2 separate regions of the Homo sapiens genome follow, and region 2 is linked to region 1. The links are contacts of gene promoters, found by promoter capture Hi-C in human tissues and cell types (Jung and others, 2019). All regions are on one chromosome and are shown on one strand. Each heading gives the region's core, a stretch centred on a gene start or on the middle of the fragment in contact. The rest is flanking DNA. Distances are from core to core; before and after follow the strand shown. Region 1 holds the start of KIF3B (kinesin family member 3B). Region 2 overlaps KIF3B (kinesin family member 3B).

The links. The method cuts DNA at HindIII sites, captures the fragments that hold promoters and counts their contacts. A contact is called where the count stands out against the background at its distance.
Region 2: a fragment that was not itself captured here is called in contact with the fragment with the promoter of KIF3B in region 1 in 1 of the 25 tissues and cell types used here (psoas muscle).

Annotation. Positions count from the first base shown.
Region 1 is chr20:32,274,057-32,281,873 of GRCh38, reverse strand. KIF3B (kinesin family member 3B) reads right to left here and starts at 4,223. Exons shown (of 9, transcript NM_004798.4): 1 at 4,109-4,223. It overlaps LOC124904885 (a long non-coding RNA gene), which reads left to right and starts at 4,331. Exons shown (of 2, transcript XR_007067561.1): 1 at 4,331-4,570; 2 at 6,232-6,455. RefSeq lists silencers at 3,848-4,027, 4,048-4,207 and enhancers at 3,861-4,371, 4,418-4,467. The HindIII fragment of the contact is 2,728 bases long and covers 2,225-4,952 here.
Region 2 is chr20:32,317,074-32,324,890 of GRCh38, reverse strand. The region is part of intron 5 of KIF3B (kinesin family member 3B); the gene reads right to left. Among named protein-coding and RNA genes, the nearest start is that of ASXL1, 37 kb to the left of the region's middle. The HindIII fragment of the contact is 8,391 bases long and covers 422-7,817 here.

The sequences.
Region 1 (7,817 bases), core at 2,974-5,473:
CAAGCTTGTTGCCACCTCACAGCCTTTACCCTTGCTCTTCCTTCTGACATGTCTTCAAATGGCTGGCCCGTCCCTGGGAGCAAATCTCAGCAAAAACGTCACCATCCTAGCAAGGCCTTTTCTTTTTCTTTTTGTTTGTTGGGTTTTTTTTCTTTTTGAGATGGAGTCTCGCTCTGTTGCCCAGGCTGGAGTGCAATGGCGCAACCTCGGCTTACTGCAGCCTCTGCTTCCCAGGTTCAAGCAATTCTTGTGCCTCAGCCTCCTGAATAGCTGGGACTACAGGCACGTGCCACCACACCCAGCTAAGTTTTGTATTTTTAATAGAGATGGGATTTCACCCCAGCACTTATTCCTCATCCAAATTCCCTTGTTCATTTACTGCTGTATTTTTCTGTTTGCTGCCAGTAGAATATAAGCTGCATGAGAGCAAGGGACTCTGTACCTTTCTACCATGATATCTCCAGGCTAAAACAGAACTGACACATTCTAGGTGCTCAGGAAATACTGAATAAATACAATCCGGGCAGGATAGTGGTAAGTACACTGAATTTGAAGACAGAAGACTGGATTTCAACGTGAAATGGGCCACTCAATAGCATCATGGCTTCTTGGCTTCCATTCAGATTCCTCGACTATAAAACAGAGATCCTAATCTGCACCTTACCTTCCTTGAAGGGACACAGATAAGATTAAATGAGTAAAAGCATGTGTAAGCAAGTGTAGGCATTTTTGTAAGCCATTAGGCACCTTATTGTTATTGTCAAGTATTGCTACTCTCTGTTACATAAGACGGGGTCTTTCTCAGGGACTTGCGAATTAATGGATGAAAAGGCTTAGGAAGCAATCTGAGGTTTCTAATCCAGGCACCTAACAGAAGTCTAGGGACACAACAAAACAGATTAGAATCAGTGGCTTCACTCTGCAGCCAAGGCAAACATAAGATATGAATTCATTTAAAGATGTCAAATGCAGTAATTTGCAAATTAAGCTCTGAGTTCCTCGAAGGATATGGAGATGGGATTGACCTCCACATCCTCCATGTGCCTAGCATAAGGGGATTTAGCAAATATTTACTGAATTGGATGTTGAGCTACTAAACCTAACGTCCTACCATCAGCTTTCATCTTTCTTTCTTTTTTTTTTTTTTTTTTTTTTTTTTGAGACGGAGTCTTGCTCTGTCGCCCAGGCTGGAGTGCAGTGGCGCAATCTTGGCTCACTGCAAGTTCCACCTCCCCGGTTCACGCCATTCTCCTGCCTCAGCCTCCCGAGTAGCTGGGACTACAGGCGCCCGCCACCATGCCCAGCTAATTTTTTTTTTCTTTTAGTAGAGATGGGGTTTCACTGTGCTAGCCAGGATGGTCTCGATCTCCTGACCTCGTGATCCACCCGTCTTGGCCTCCCAAAGTGCTGGGATTACAGCCGTGAGCCACCATGCCTGGACAGCTTTACCTTTCTTTGCAACCCATTGTGGCACATGATTACAGGTTCCTGGGGCCAACTGTATAAAAATATCAACATTTATATAATGCCATGATGGCTACTGTTTCATGCTTGCAATGACATTATGGTTGACGGACCTGGTATTATCACATACTTTAATTTATTCTTTCACCAACCATACACGGAAAATACAGCACAAGCACCACGTTAAACCCAAATAACGATAGCTAATGTTTACCAAATATGCTGGGCACTTCACATATATTAAGTTCAAATAAATCCTCAGAACAGCCATACATGATAATAAGGCCACAGGTAATAAGGCCTATTACTATCCCCATTTTACAGATGAGGAAACTATACCACCAAGGGGTTCAAAATGAACTATGAATAATTCTTCCTCACAGAGCCCCTTACCAAAAAGTCCTCTCATCATTTCAGAGGTACTGAGCATCATTTCAGAGGTAAAGTAGCACCTCTTTGCTCAGTAGCACACAGCTTGGAAGTGGCAGAGCCAAGATTTTAGTCCAGGTAGTCTGATTGCAAGCTTTTAACCACAACTGCATAACAGCACTGAAAGGGCCTTCAGTATAATCTAGCCTAGTCCCCTCATTTTAATGAGGAGGGAATGAGGGACAGAGAAGCCCTCTTTTAAAGATTCCAGCTCTCAGGCTGGGCACAGTGGCTCATGCCTGTAATCCCAGTCCTTTGGGAGGCCAAGGCAGGCGATCACCTGAGGTCGGGAGTTTGAGACCAGCCTGACCAACATGGAGAAACCCCATCTCTACTAAAAATACAAAATTAGCCGGGCATGGTGGCACATGCCTGTAATCCCAGCTACTTGGGAGGCTGAGGCAGGAGAACTGCTTGAACCAGGGAGGCGGAGGTTGCAGTGAGCTGAGATGGCACCATTGCACTCCAGCCTGGGCAACAACAGCAAAACTCCGTCTCAAAAAAAAAAAAAAAGATTCCAACTATTTTCTGAGATCCTCACTTTGGGTGGTATCTATTTAAATAAAGCTTTACCTGAGATCTTGTTTCCTTGCCTTTTAACTTCTAGCCAGTTAAAAGTAACAAAAGAATACCCCTGTGGCCTTATAATAGCAACTGTTGCAAAATCAGAGGCAACAGTGAATGGGGGATAAAATACAGGATTTACCTAGAAACACGTCCACTTCCATCACTTAATAGATACAAGATTCTTAGGCAATGACTGGGTGTGGTGGCTCACGCATGTAATCCTAGCACTTTGGGAGGCCGAGGCAGGTATATCACTTGAGGCCAGGAGTTCGAGACCAGCCAGGCCAACATGGTGAAACCTTGTCTCTACTAAAACTACAAAAATTAGTGGACGAGGTGGTGAACATCTGTAGTCCCAGCTACTCGGGAGGCTGAGGCAGGAGAATCGCTTGAACACACGAGGCGGAGGTTGCAGTGAGCTGAGATCGCGCCACTGCACTCCAGCCTGGGCAACAGACTAAGACTCTGTCTCAAAAAAAAAAAAAAAAAAAAGGATTCTTAAGCAGGTCCTTCCCTTTACTTTTCTGAACCTCAGTTTCCTCATCGGCAAAATGAGGATGACATCACCAGGCACCTGGCAAAGTCTACATAAAGATTAAATGAAATAATATGCCTGGTAAAGTGCTTCTTAATCATATGCTTGTAAATAGTTATTACTGCTTTAAGCACTTCCCAAAGGACACAAAGATGCCTTTTTTCTTCTGGAAGGGTCAACGAAGCCCAGGTAGAAAATGAGACCATGACCCCAGCTATCTACAAGGGGTTGACCTCAAAGAGTTTCCCAGGACTACTTGTAGAAGTACCTCCCTTGCTCTGAGCAGAATGGAGAAGTAAAACCGGGGTTGGGGGTTGGCATTGCAGTAGGACTACCCATATGAGCTGGCACTCTACACACCTACACCTTACCTGTCCCAAAGTCATCTCCTCCTGGAAGTCTTGCCCTCCTACCCTGGACGCCTCATAATAGCTGGTTGAGCACTTACTATGTGCCAAGCTACTTGACATACCCAGTCTCACTGATTTCCACAGTAGTCTATTACCTCATTTCACAGATAAGGAAAAGAAGACTCAGAGAAATTAACTTGCCCAGGGCCACACAGTTACTAAGTGGAAATGCCACGTCTCTAACTCGCTCAGACTTCAAACTGCCCTCTTGGTCTCCCATCTAGGGTGCCCTAAGAATTCTCCCTCTCCCCATTTAGGGCACTTTCACATACACTTCTCATTATCTTTACCACTCTGAGCAGCAATGTTAGGACCCCATTGAATAAACAGGTCAGCTAAGGCCAGGGAGGTGAAAAGACTTGCCCAAGGTCACACAGCAAGCCCAGCACAGCGCCGAGGTTCGGACCCCAGGCTCTCGCTTCCCCGCCCTCCTCCCAAACTGGGGCCCTGACCACCGCCTCAGGGCCCCCAGGTGGGCTGCGACCCAAGGTGGCCGTGTCTGGGGGTCGGGCCGCGACCCTGCCAGGGGAAGGAGGGGCAAGGCCGTCCGGACTACCAAAGGATGCCTAGGAGGCAGGGCAGAGGATGCTCCGGCTCGCGGGACAGCAAAGCCAGGCAGAGGCGCGGGCGCAGGTCGCAGGGAAAACCCCAGGCGGCCACAGGATTAGCCCTGCTCGGTGGGCGCCCGGCCCCTCCGACTCACCTGAGGCCCGAGCCGAAAGCGGGCGGCGGCGGCGGCGGCGGCGGCGGCGGCGGCGGCGGGGGCGGCGAACCCCTGGCTCAGCCATTCCCCGCTGCCCCGGATGGGGAGAGACAGTGGCCGCTCACTTCCTTAGCAACCTGGCTCGGCGACCCACTTCCTTAGCAACCGGTGTCAATTTCAATAACTTTATTGGCACACGAGCAGAGGACAGGGAAAGCCGGCTGGAGGGGTCTGGGCGGGGCTCAGGTCGGTGCTGGTGTTTAGCGGGGGCCCAACACACCTCGGTCTCCTCACCCACCTAAGCGGGGAGAGTGGCGCACAACGTGGCCTGACTCCATCCTCTGGTATCTCGTGCCTCAGTTTCCCATCTGTAAATGGAACACACGCGATTTCAGCCGCCGTTCAACCTTTCTAAAAGCTTTCACATCCATTATCTGACTGGTGTCTCAAACTGCTACTGAGGTAACTCCCATTTAGGGTGCCCCCAGTGACTCAATACGAACACCTATAGGCACCCTTGTTGTAGCTTTCCTGTCCTTCACCCAATCCAGTCAGTCACAACCGCCCCAGGCAAGGCCAGGCCACGCTCATCTCTAGCCTGCCTGAAATATCTGGTCTGTTTCCATTCTTTTGTCCAGCTCTGTCCGAACAATCCATTTTCCATAAGGTGGCCAGAGTAATTATTTAAAACAGATCATGCGGCCAGGTGCGGTGGCTCCCGCTGTAATCCCAGCACTTTGGGAGGCTGAGGCAGGTGAATCACCTGAGGTCAGGAGTTCGAGACCAGCTTGGCCAACATGGCGAAACCCCGTCTCTAATAAAAATACAAAAAATTAGCCGGGCGTGGTGGCGCATGCCTGTAGTCCCAGCTACTCGGGAGGCTGAGGCAGGAGAATCGCTTGAACCCGGGAGGCAGGGGTTGCAGTGAGAGAGATGGCACCACTGCACTCCAGCCTGGGCGACAACAGCGAAACTCCGTCTCAGATATAAAGATTAAAATAAATAAATAAATAAATAAATAAATAAAACAGATCATGCCACTTTCTGATTAATACTCGATTTAATGGAGTCTCATTGCTCTTAGAATCAAATATGAAGTCCTTATTACTTCCTGCAAAATTCGTTAAAACTCTATTCCAACCACACTGGCCTAGAAGGGCAGGTTCCAACCCCCATGGAACTTACACCTGCTGTTCCCCACTAAATAGAAACTGCATAAGAGCAGTCTTTTATTTGTTCACTCTTGTATCCACCATGCCTGGAACCAAGCTTAGTCAATAGTAGTTGCTGAACAAATATGTTTTGCTCCTTGAATAAATGAATACCTGAGATGGTCTTCTTCATCTGCCTACAACTACTTTTTGCCTGTTGTGGCAGATATTGCTACTTCCTCTCAAAAACGTTATTTCTTCCTGCTCCTGGACACACAACTAGACAGTATTTCCCAGCCTTCCTTACAGTTCAGACCAAGTTCTGGCCAATTAAATGTGATGTGTGCTATTCTCAGGCCTGGCCCATTAAAACTCCCACATAATTTGATTTACACTTTCTCTACAGTGAAGAAGTTTATTTTTAAATAAAATAATAAAGGAAATACCAAAAGAGACTGCACCCAGCCTCTTTTGGTATTTCCTGAAGCTAATAATTGCCTCATTTTTTCCCCCCTTTCATTAGCTTTCTTTGCAGATATTGTTAATTTTTTCCTATGTGGTTAATAAATTAGACAAAATAATCAGCAGTGATTTTTCCAGATGTGTAACATAACAATTCGGCTAGGCATGGTGGCTCATGCCCATAATCCCAGCACCTTGGGAGGCTGAGGCAGGCAGATCACCCTGAGGTCAGGAGTTCAAGACCAGCCTGGCCAACATGGAGAAACCACGTCTCTACTAAAAATACAAAAATCAGCCAGGAGTGGTGGCAGGCACCTGTAATCCCCACTACTTTGGAGGCTGAGGCAGGAGAATTGCTTGAACCTAGGAGGTGGAGGTTGCAGTGACCCGAAATAACCCTATTGCACTCTAGCTTGGGTGACAAGAGCAAAACTCCATCTCACAAAAACAACAACAACTTAAAAAAAAAAAAAAAGTTCATGAGTTCTCTTTTGTTTTTTTCTCCTGAAGGCTTCAGCTCTGATCTGGACCAGTGCTCTCCAGGCCTACTGCACAGCTGTCATACTGAACTTTCCTATATCCTACACCTGGTTGGGATTCCCTGTGCCCTGGACCTTGTGTCTCAAACTTCTAGATTGTGGATTTACTCTGTCATCTCTGTGCAGCACATCTTTCTGTAGATTCCTGAGAAAGGTTGCAAAGAAGCAAATATATTTAGTCCTTGTATGTCTAAATATGCATTTATACTGTTTTCACACTTGATTAATAGTTTAGCAGGGTATAGAAATCTAGGCTGAAGGCCAGGCGCCATGTCTTATGCCTGTAATCCCAGCACTTTGGGAGGTCGAGGCAGGCAGATCACCTGAGGTCAAGTGTTTGAGACCAGCCTGGCCAACATGCTGAAACCTTGTCTCTACTAAAAATACAAAAAAAACATTAGCTGGGCATGGTGGCACATGCCTGTAGTCCCAGCTACTCGGGGAGGCTGAGGCAGGATAATCACTTGAACCCAGGAGGCAGAGGTTGCAGTAAGCCAAGATTGCACCACTGCACTCCAGCCTGAGCGACAGAGGGAGCCTCCATTTCAAAAAAAAAAAAAAAAAAGAAATCTAGGCTGAAAATTATTTCTCTCAGAATTTTTAAAACATTGCATTATTGTTTCTAGTATCCAGATTTAAGACATCTAATGCCATTCTTAATCCTGTTGCTTTATATGTGTCTTGTTCTTTTTTTATTTTTAATCTTTGAAAACTTTTAGGCTATCATCTTTATCCATAATGTTGTATTTGATGATGACTCCCCTCAGTGAGGCTTTTCCTCACTTGTGTTAGCTGGGCCTTTTCAATCTGGAGACTTATATCCCTCTAATCTAGGAAATTTTCTTGTATTATTTTTTCGATAATTTTCTCCCCTCCTATTTTTTTTTCCCCTGAAACAGTGTTGTGCTATGTTGCACAGGCTGGAATGCAGTGGCATGATCATGGCTCACTGCAGCTTCAAGTGATCCTGCCACCTCAGCCTCCCGAGTAGCTAGGACTACAGGTGCATACCACCATGCCTGAGTAATTTTTCTATTTTTTGTAGAAATGGGGTCTCACTGTGTTGCCCAGCTGGTCTCAAACTCCTGGGCTCAAGCAATCCCCCTGCCTCGGCCTCCCAAACTGTTGGGACTACAGGAATGAGACACCAGACTTGGCTCTCCCCTCCATTTTTTTCTCTTTCTGGAATTTCTCTTAGTCAGAAGTTATACTTTCCAAACTGAGTTTCTAATTTTCTCTGTTTTTCTCTTATTGTCCCTCTTTTTGGCTCTTTTGTTCTACTCTGTGGGAGATTTCCATCCATATCTTTATTTTTAGTGTCTATCTCTTCTATGGAAGAATCTGGGCTCACCTTTTAGTCATCAAATCAATATTCCCTGCAGACATTTGGGTCATAACTTCCTCCCCCTGTTAAGTCAGTTACTACTTCCCCTTCTGTCCCTGTTTTCTAAAAACTTGCTGAAATCCCTGGGCCACTAATGTCTCCTTTTCATTCCTATTCATGTTCTGGGTTAATACATTTTTTATTCCTTATTGCCATATAGATGGGGTTCGAGG
Region 2 (7,817 bases), core at 3,368-5,867, 43 kb before region 1:
CCCAGCTAATTTTTTTGTATTTTTAGTAGAGACAGGGTTTCACCATGTTGCCCAGGCTGGTCTTGAGCTCCTGAGCTCAGGCAATTTGCCCACCTCAGCCTCCAAAAGTGCTGGGATTATAGGCATGAGCCACCGCACCTTGCCTACATTTAATTTTAAGGGCTCTTTTCCAAATTTAAAATTTGATCATTAAAAGAATCCCTTTGAAAACTTCTTCTTTGGCCAGGCATGGTCATTTTGTAACCCCACTAATGAAATAATGGATCCAGACAAAGATCATCTGTTGGCTGAAACTATTAGCTCCACATTTCTCAGGCCAGGCTGCACATTAACGTTACCTACAGAGTTTTGAAAAATATCTTGCCCAGACCTCATGAGAGACCAAGAGTTCTCAAAGTGCATTCACCAAACCAGCAGAAGCAATACCTGGAACCTACTAGAAATGAACATTCTCAGGCCCTGCCCCAGCCTTTCTGAATCAGACTCCGGGTGTGATACCCAGCAATCTGTGTTTAACAATCCCTTCAGGTAATTCTGATGCCTGCTAAAGTTTAAGGACTACTGCCCTAGACCAATTAAATCAGAATCTCTGAGGTGGGGCTCAGACATCATTAATTTTTAAAACTTCTCAGTTTGTAGCCAAGGTTGGGAACCCGTGCTTCAGAGATAGCTTTCAGTTAGAGCTAAATAAAGGGGATAGAGATACAAGTTAATTGACACCATGAAGAAAGAGACCAACAAATCCAGAATGTAGTATATTTCTTCTTTTTTTTTTTTCTTTTGAGTTGGTGTCTCACTCGGTCACCCAGACTGGAATGCAGTGGCATAATCTTGGCTCACTGCAGCCTTGAACTCCTGGGCTCAAGCAATCCTCCTGCCTCAGCTTCCCAAGTAGCTGGAACTACAGGCACATGCCACCACTCCCGCCTACAATGTGGGATATTTCTACAGGCTATCTGATTCAGTCTTTTCAACAAGTCAACTATGAAAAATATGTATATATATACTTTTTGAGATGGAGTTTCGCTCTTGTTGCCCCAGCTGGAGTGCAGTGGCACAATCTTGGCTCACTGCAACCTCCGCCTTCCAGGTTCAAGCAATTTTCCTGCCTCAGCCTCCCGAGTAGTTGAGATTACAGGCGCCCGCCACCACACCCAGCTAATTCTTGTATTTTTAGTAGAGATGGGGGTTTCACCATCTTGGCCAGGCTGGTCTTGAACTCCTGACCTCATGATCCACCTGCCTCAGCCTCCCAAAGTGCTGGGATTACAGGTACGAGCCACCATGCTCGGCTGAAAAATATTTTTAAAAATAAAAAGAATTGGCTGGGCGTGGTGGCTCACTACTCGAGTAGTCCCAGCTACCTGGGAGGCCGAGGCAGGAGAATCACTTGAACCTGGGAGGCAGAGTTTGCAGTGAGCCGAGACCGCGCCACTGCACTCCAGTCTGGCGACAAAGTGAGACTCTGTCTCAAATAAACAAATAAATAAAATAAAAAATAAAAAGAATTGCCTCAGATTAAAATAAGTCTAAGAGACTTAATAACCAAATGTAACATGTAGTCCTAATATGTAGATCTTAAAACGAGCAAACCAAGAAAATCTGAATGTGGATTGGGTACTAGAAAATACTAAGAAACTTAATTTTTTTAGGTATAAAAATATCATTGTGTAGACAAAAATCAATTATATATAAATATAAATATATATAAATATATAAATATAAATATATAAATATAAATATATAAATATATGTAAATATATAAATATAAATATATAAATATATATAAATATATAAATATAAATATATATAAATATATAAATATATATAAATATAAATATATATAAATATAAATATATAAATATATAAATATAAATATATATAAATATAAATATATGTATATATAAATATGTGTATATATATAAATATGTATATATATAAATATGTATATATATAAATATGTATATATAAATATATAAAAATATATATGAATATGTATATAAATATATAAAAATATATATGAATATGTATATATAAATATATATAAATATATAAAAATATACATATAAATATATATAAATATATATAAATATATATATAAATATATATAAATATATATATAAATATATATAAATATATATATAAATAAATATATATAAATAAATAAATATAAATATATATAAATATATAAATATATATAAATATATATAAATATATAAATATATATATAAATATATAAAAATATATATATAAATATATATAAATATATAAAATTTTTTTTTTGAGACGGATTCTCGCTCTGTCGCCCAGGCTGGAGTGCAATGGCGCAATCTCGGCTCACTGCAACCTCCGCCTCCAGGGTTCAAGCGATTCTCTTGCCTCAGCCTCCCAAGTAGCTGGGATTATAGACACCCGCCACCACGCCTGGCTAATTTCTGTATTTTTGTAGAGACAGGGTTTCACCATGTTGGCCGGGCTGGTCTCAAACTCCTGACTTCAGGTGATCCGTCCACCTGGGCCTCTCAAAGTGCTGGGATTACACGTGTGAGCCACCATGCCCAGCCAGTATTTTTATATACTAGTAATTAATATTCCAAAAATAAAATTAAGAAAACAATGTCATATACCATAGCACCCAAAAAACCCTTAGGTATAAATTTAACAAAAGTGTAAGAATTATACACTGAAAACTACAAAACATTCTCGAGAAAAATTAAAGAAATAATAAATAAATGGAAAGACATCTCATGTTCATGGATCTGAATACTTAATACTGTTAAGATTACAATATTGCCCAAATTGATCTACAGATTCAATGTGATCAATATCAAAATCCCAGCTGGCTTTGTTTGCAGAAATTGACAAGCTGACCTTAAAATGTAGAGGCATACCTCAGAGATACTGTGGGTTTGGTTCCAGACTACTCCAATAAAGTAAGTATCACAATAAAGCAAGTAACACAATTTTTTGGTTTCCCAGTGCATATAAAAGTTATGCTTACACTATACTGTAGTCTATTAAATGTATAATACCATTTTGTCTACAAAAAGTATAGACTTTAAGAATACTTTATTGCTAATAAATGCTTACACAGAGACATGAAGAGAGCATATGCTGTTGAAAAAATGGTGCCAACAGACTTGCTTTATGCAGGGTTTCCACAAACCTTCAATTTGTAGAAAATGTAATATCTGTGAATTATAACAAAGCAGAGTGCAGTAAAACAAAGTATGTTTGAATATGGAAATGCAAGGGACCCTGAACAGTCAAAACACTCCTGAAAAAGAACAAGGCTGGAGGACTCACACTTCCTGATTTCAAAACTAACAAAGCTATAGTAATTAAGACAGAATGGTACTAGCATGAGGATAGATATATAGAACAATGGAACAGTATTGAAAGTCCAGAAATAAATAAATAAATGCTTAATTACGGTCAACTGACTTTCTTTTTTTTTTTTTTGAGACAGAGTCTTGCTCTGTTGCCCAGGCTGGAGTACAGTGGCATGATCTCAGCTCACTGCAACCTACACCTCCCAGGTTCAAGGGATTCCTCTGCCTCAGCCTCCTGAGTAGCTGGGACTACAGGTGTGCACCACCACACCTGGCTAATTTTTGTATTTCTAGTAGAGACAGGGTTTCACCATATTGGCCAGGGTGATCTCGAACTCCTGACCTCAGGTGATCCACCCACCTCGGCCTCCCAAATGCTGGGATTACAGGCATGAGCCACAGCGCCCGGCCCTGACTTTCAATAAGTATGCCAAGACAATGAAATGGGAGAGAAAAGCCCTTTCAACAAATGGTGCTGGAACAACTAGATATCTGCATCCAAAACACTGTACTTGAAACCCTACCTCATACCATACACAGAAATTAACTCAAATGGATCATAGACCTAAATGTAAGACCTAACACTATAAGCCTCTTAGAGGATCTAAGAGAATGAAACATGCGTCCACAAAAGAAACTTGAATATGAATGTTCACAGCAGCATTATTCATAACACCCAAAAGTAGAAATAACCCAAATGTCCATCAAATAATGAATGGATAAATAAAATGTGGTATATTTATACAACAGAATATTATTTGGTCATAAAAAATGAATAAAGTATTGATACATGCTACAACATGGAAGACTGTTGAAAACACTATACTAGCTTTGGCAACACAGCAAGACCCATCCTTATGAAAAAATTTTAAAAAATTAGCCAGGTGTGCTAGCATGCAACTGAAGTCCTAGCAACTCAGGAGGCTCAAGCAGGAAGATTACTTGAACCCAAGAGGTCAAGGCTGTGAGCTATGATGGCACCACTGCACTCCAGTCTGATTGACAGAAGAAGGCCTTATCTCTAAAAAAAAAAAAAAACTAACAAAACACACACATGCACACACACACACACACACATATGAAGAAAGCAGTCACAAAAGGCCACATTATTCCAACATTATTTCATTTATAAACTTATATGAAAGGTCCAGAAAAGGCAAATCTAGATACAATACCAAAAGTAAAATAAACAAAAGAAAATACAATTAAATTGGGCTATATCACAACGGAAATCTTTTGTGCTATAAGTAATACCATCAAGAAAGTTTAAAAACAACTCAGAATAACAGAAAGCATCTTCAAATCATGAATCTCATGAGAAAGTGGTATTCATAATATATTAATATAAAGAACTCTTAAAACTCAGCCGGGCACAGTGGCTCACGCCTGTAATCCTAGCATTTTGGGAGGCTGAGGCGGGTGGATCACCTGAGGTCAGGAGTTCCAGACCAGCCTGGCCAAGATGGTAAAACCCCGTCTCTACTAAAAATACAAAAATTAGCTGGGCATGGTGGCACATGCCTATAGTCCCAGCTACTCGGGAGGCTGAAGCAGGACAATCACTTGAACCCAGGAGGCAGAGGCTGCAGTGAGCTAAGATCATGCCATTGCACTCCAGCCTGGGTGACAGACCCAGACTCTGTCTCAAAAAAAACTCTTAAAACTTAATTATTGGCTGGACATGGTGGCTCATGCCTGTAATCCAAGCACTTTGGGATGCCAAGGCAGGTGGATCACCTGAGGTTAGGAGTTCAAGACCAGCCTGGGCAACATGGTGACACCCCATCTCTACTAAAAATACAAAAATCAGCCGGGCATGGTGGCGGGTGCCTGTATTCCCAGCTATTCGGGAGGCTGAGGCATGAGAATCGCTTGAACCCAGGAGGCAGAGGTTGCAATGAGTCAAGTTCACGCCATTGCATTCCAGCCTGGATGACAGAGCGAGACTCCAACTCCAAAAAAAAAAAAAAAAAAAACAAAAACAAAACAAAAAAAAACTATATATATACACATATGTGTGTGTGTGTGTGTATGAAATATATATATTTCATATATATACGAAATATATACATATATATATATATGAAACAACCCCATTTTAAAATGGGGTAAAGGATTTGTATAGATATTTCTCCAAAGACATACAAATGGCCAATAAGCCCGTGAAAGGATGCTCAACATCATTAGTCATCAGAGAAATATGCAAATCAAAACTATAATGAAGTACCATTTCACACTCGTTAGGATGTCTATGATAAAAGAGACAGGAAATAACAAGTGTCGACAAGGATGTGGAGAGGCCGGGCATGGTGGCTCACACTTGTAATCCTAGCACTTTGGGAGGCTAAGTCGGGCAGACTGCTTGAGCCCAGGAGTTTGAGACCAGCCTAGGCAACATGGTGAAACCCCATCTCTACAAAAAACACAAAAATTAGCCAAGTAGGGTGGCATGCCGCTATAGTCCCAGCTATTCCAGAGGTTGAGGTGGGAGGATCGCTTGAGCCCAGGAGGTGGAGGTTGCAGTGTGCTGAGACTGCACCTCTGCACACCAGCCTGGGTGGCAGAACGAGACTGTCTCAAAGAAAAAAAAAAAAAAGAAGATGTGGAGAAATTGGTGGTAGAAATGTAAAATAGTGCAGCCACTGTGGCAAACAGTTTGGCATTCTCTCAAAAAGTTAAACACTGAGTTACCATATGACCCAGCAATTCCACTCCTATGAATGTATCCCAGAGAAATGAAAACACACATCCATACAAAACCTTATACATGAATGCTTATAGAAGTATTATCCATAATAGCCAAAGACTAGAAATAATCGGAATGTATATAAACTGAAAAATAAATAAATATGTGTCCTATTCATACAGTGCAATATTATTCAGTCATAATAAAGAACAATTGATGTTGGGACTACCAGATATCTGTTGATCCATGCTACGGCATGGACGATCCTTGAAAGCGTCATGCTAAGCAAAAGACACCAGGCCAAAAAGGCCACACAGTGTGTGATTCCATTTATATGAGATGGCCAGAATAGGCAAAGCCATAGAGACAGGAAGCAGATTAGTGATTACTTCGGGTTGGGAAAGGGGGTAATGAGGAGTGACTACTAACTGGTAGAGTTTCTTTTAGAGGAGAGTAATAAAAATGTTCTAAAATTAGATTGTAGTGGTGGTTTTATAGCCCTATGCATATATATGCTTTTAAAAAAACACTGATTTGTATACTTTATCATTTTTTAATTTTTTTTTTTTTGAGACAAGAATCTCGCTGTGTCACCCAGGCTTGAGTAAAGTGGTGTGATCTCAGCTCACTGCAACCTCCGCCTCCCAGGTTCAAGAGATTCTCCTGCCTCAGCCTCCTGAGTAACTGGGATTACAGGTACACGCCATCACACCCAGCTAATTTTTGGATTTTTAGTAGAGACGGGGTTTCACCATGTTGGCCAGGCTGGTCTTGAACTCCTGGCCTCAGGTGATCCACCTGCCTCGGCCTCCCAAATGCTGGGATTACAGGCATGAGCCACCATGCCCGGACTGATTTGTACACTTTAAATATGTGAATTGTATGGTATGTGAAGTATGTCTCAATTAAGCTTTTTTAAAAACAGTATTGTGGGCTGGGTGTGGTGGCTCACACCTATAATCCCAGCACTTTGGGAGGCTGAAACAGGAGGATTGCTTGAGCCTAGGAGTTTGAGATCAGCTTAGGTAACATAGAGAGACTCTATCTCTATAAAATTTTTTTTAAAAATTAGCTGGGCATAGTGGCACACACCTGTAGTTCCAGCTACCCGGGAGGCTAAGGTGGGAGGACTGTTTGAGCCCACAAGTTACAGGCTGCTGTGAACTGTGATTGTGCCACTGCACTCCAGCCTGGGTGATAGAGCAAAACTCTGTCTCAAAAAAAAAAAAAACCACTGTGATCATATATATATATATATAAGTATGTAGGAGTGAGATAACATGAGGTTAAGATTTGCTTTAAAATATTTTTGTGAAAGATAGATGGCAAAAGCTTGTTAATCCTTGAATCTGGGTGATGGGTACTTGGGTATTTATTATACCATTCAGAAAATTGTCACAATAAAAAGTCAAGTTAATAAAATATTCCCTCTTATCATCAGACAGATGTAAGACCAGAATCTTTAAAAGCTTCGAGAAGGTAGGGTTAGAAGGGAACTTGGAGATCACCTGATGAAGTCATTCAGTTAACAGATGGGATCCAGAGATGGAAAGTGACTTTTTCAGGAATGAACAGAACATGGGGTGGCAGGAGATGAGCTGGAGAAGGACCTGTCCTCAGGGCTATTTCTTTTTTTGTGTTTTTTTCTCACTCCGTCGCCCAGGCTGGAGTGCAGTGGCACGATATCAACTCACCGCAATCTCCACTTCCCGGGTTCAAGCGATTCTCCTATCTCAGCCTCCCAAGTAGCTAGGACTACAGGCATGCACCACCACGCCCAGCTAATTTTTGTATTTCTT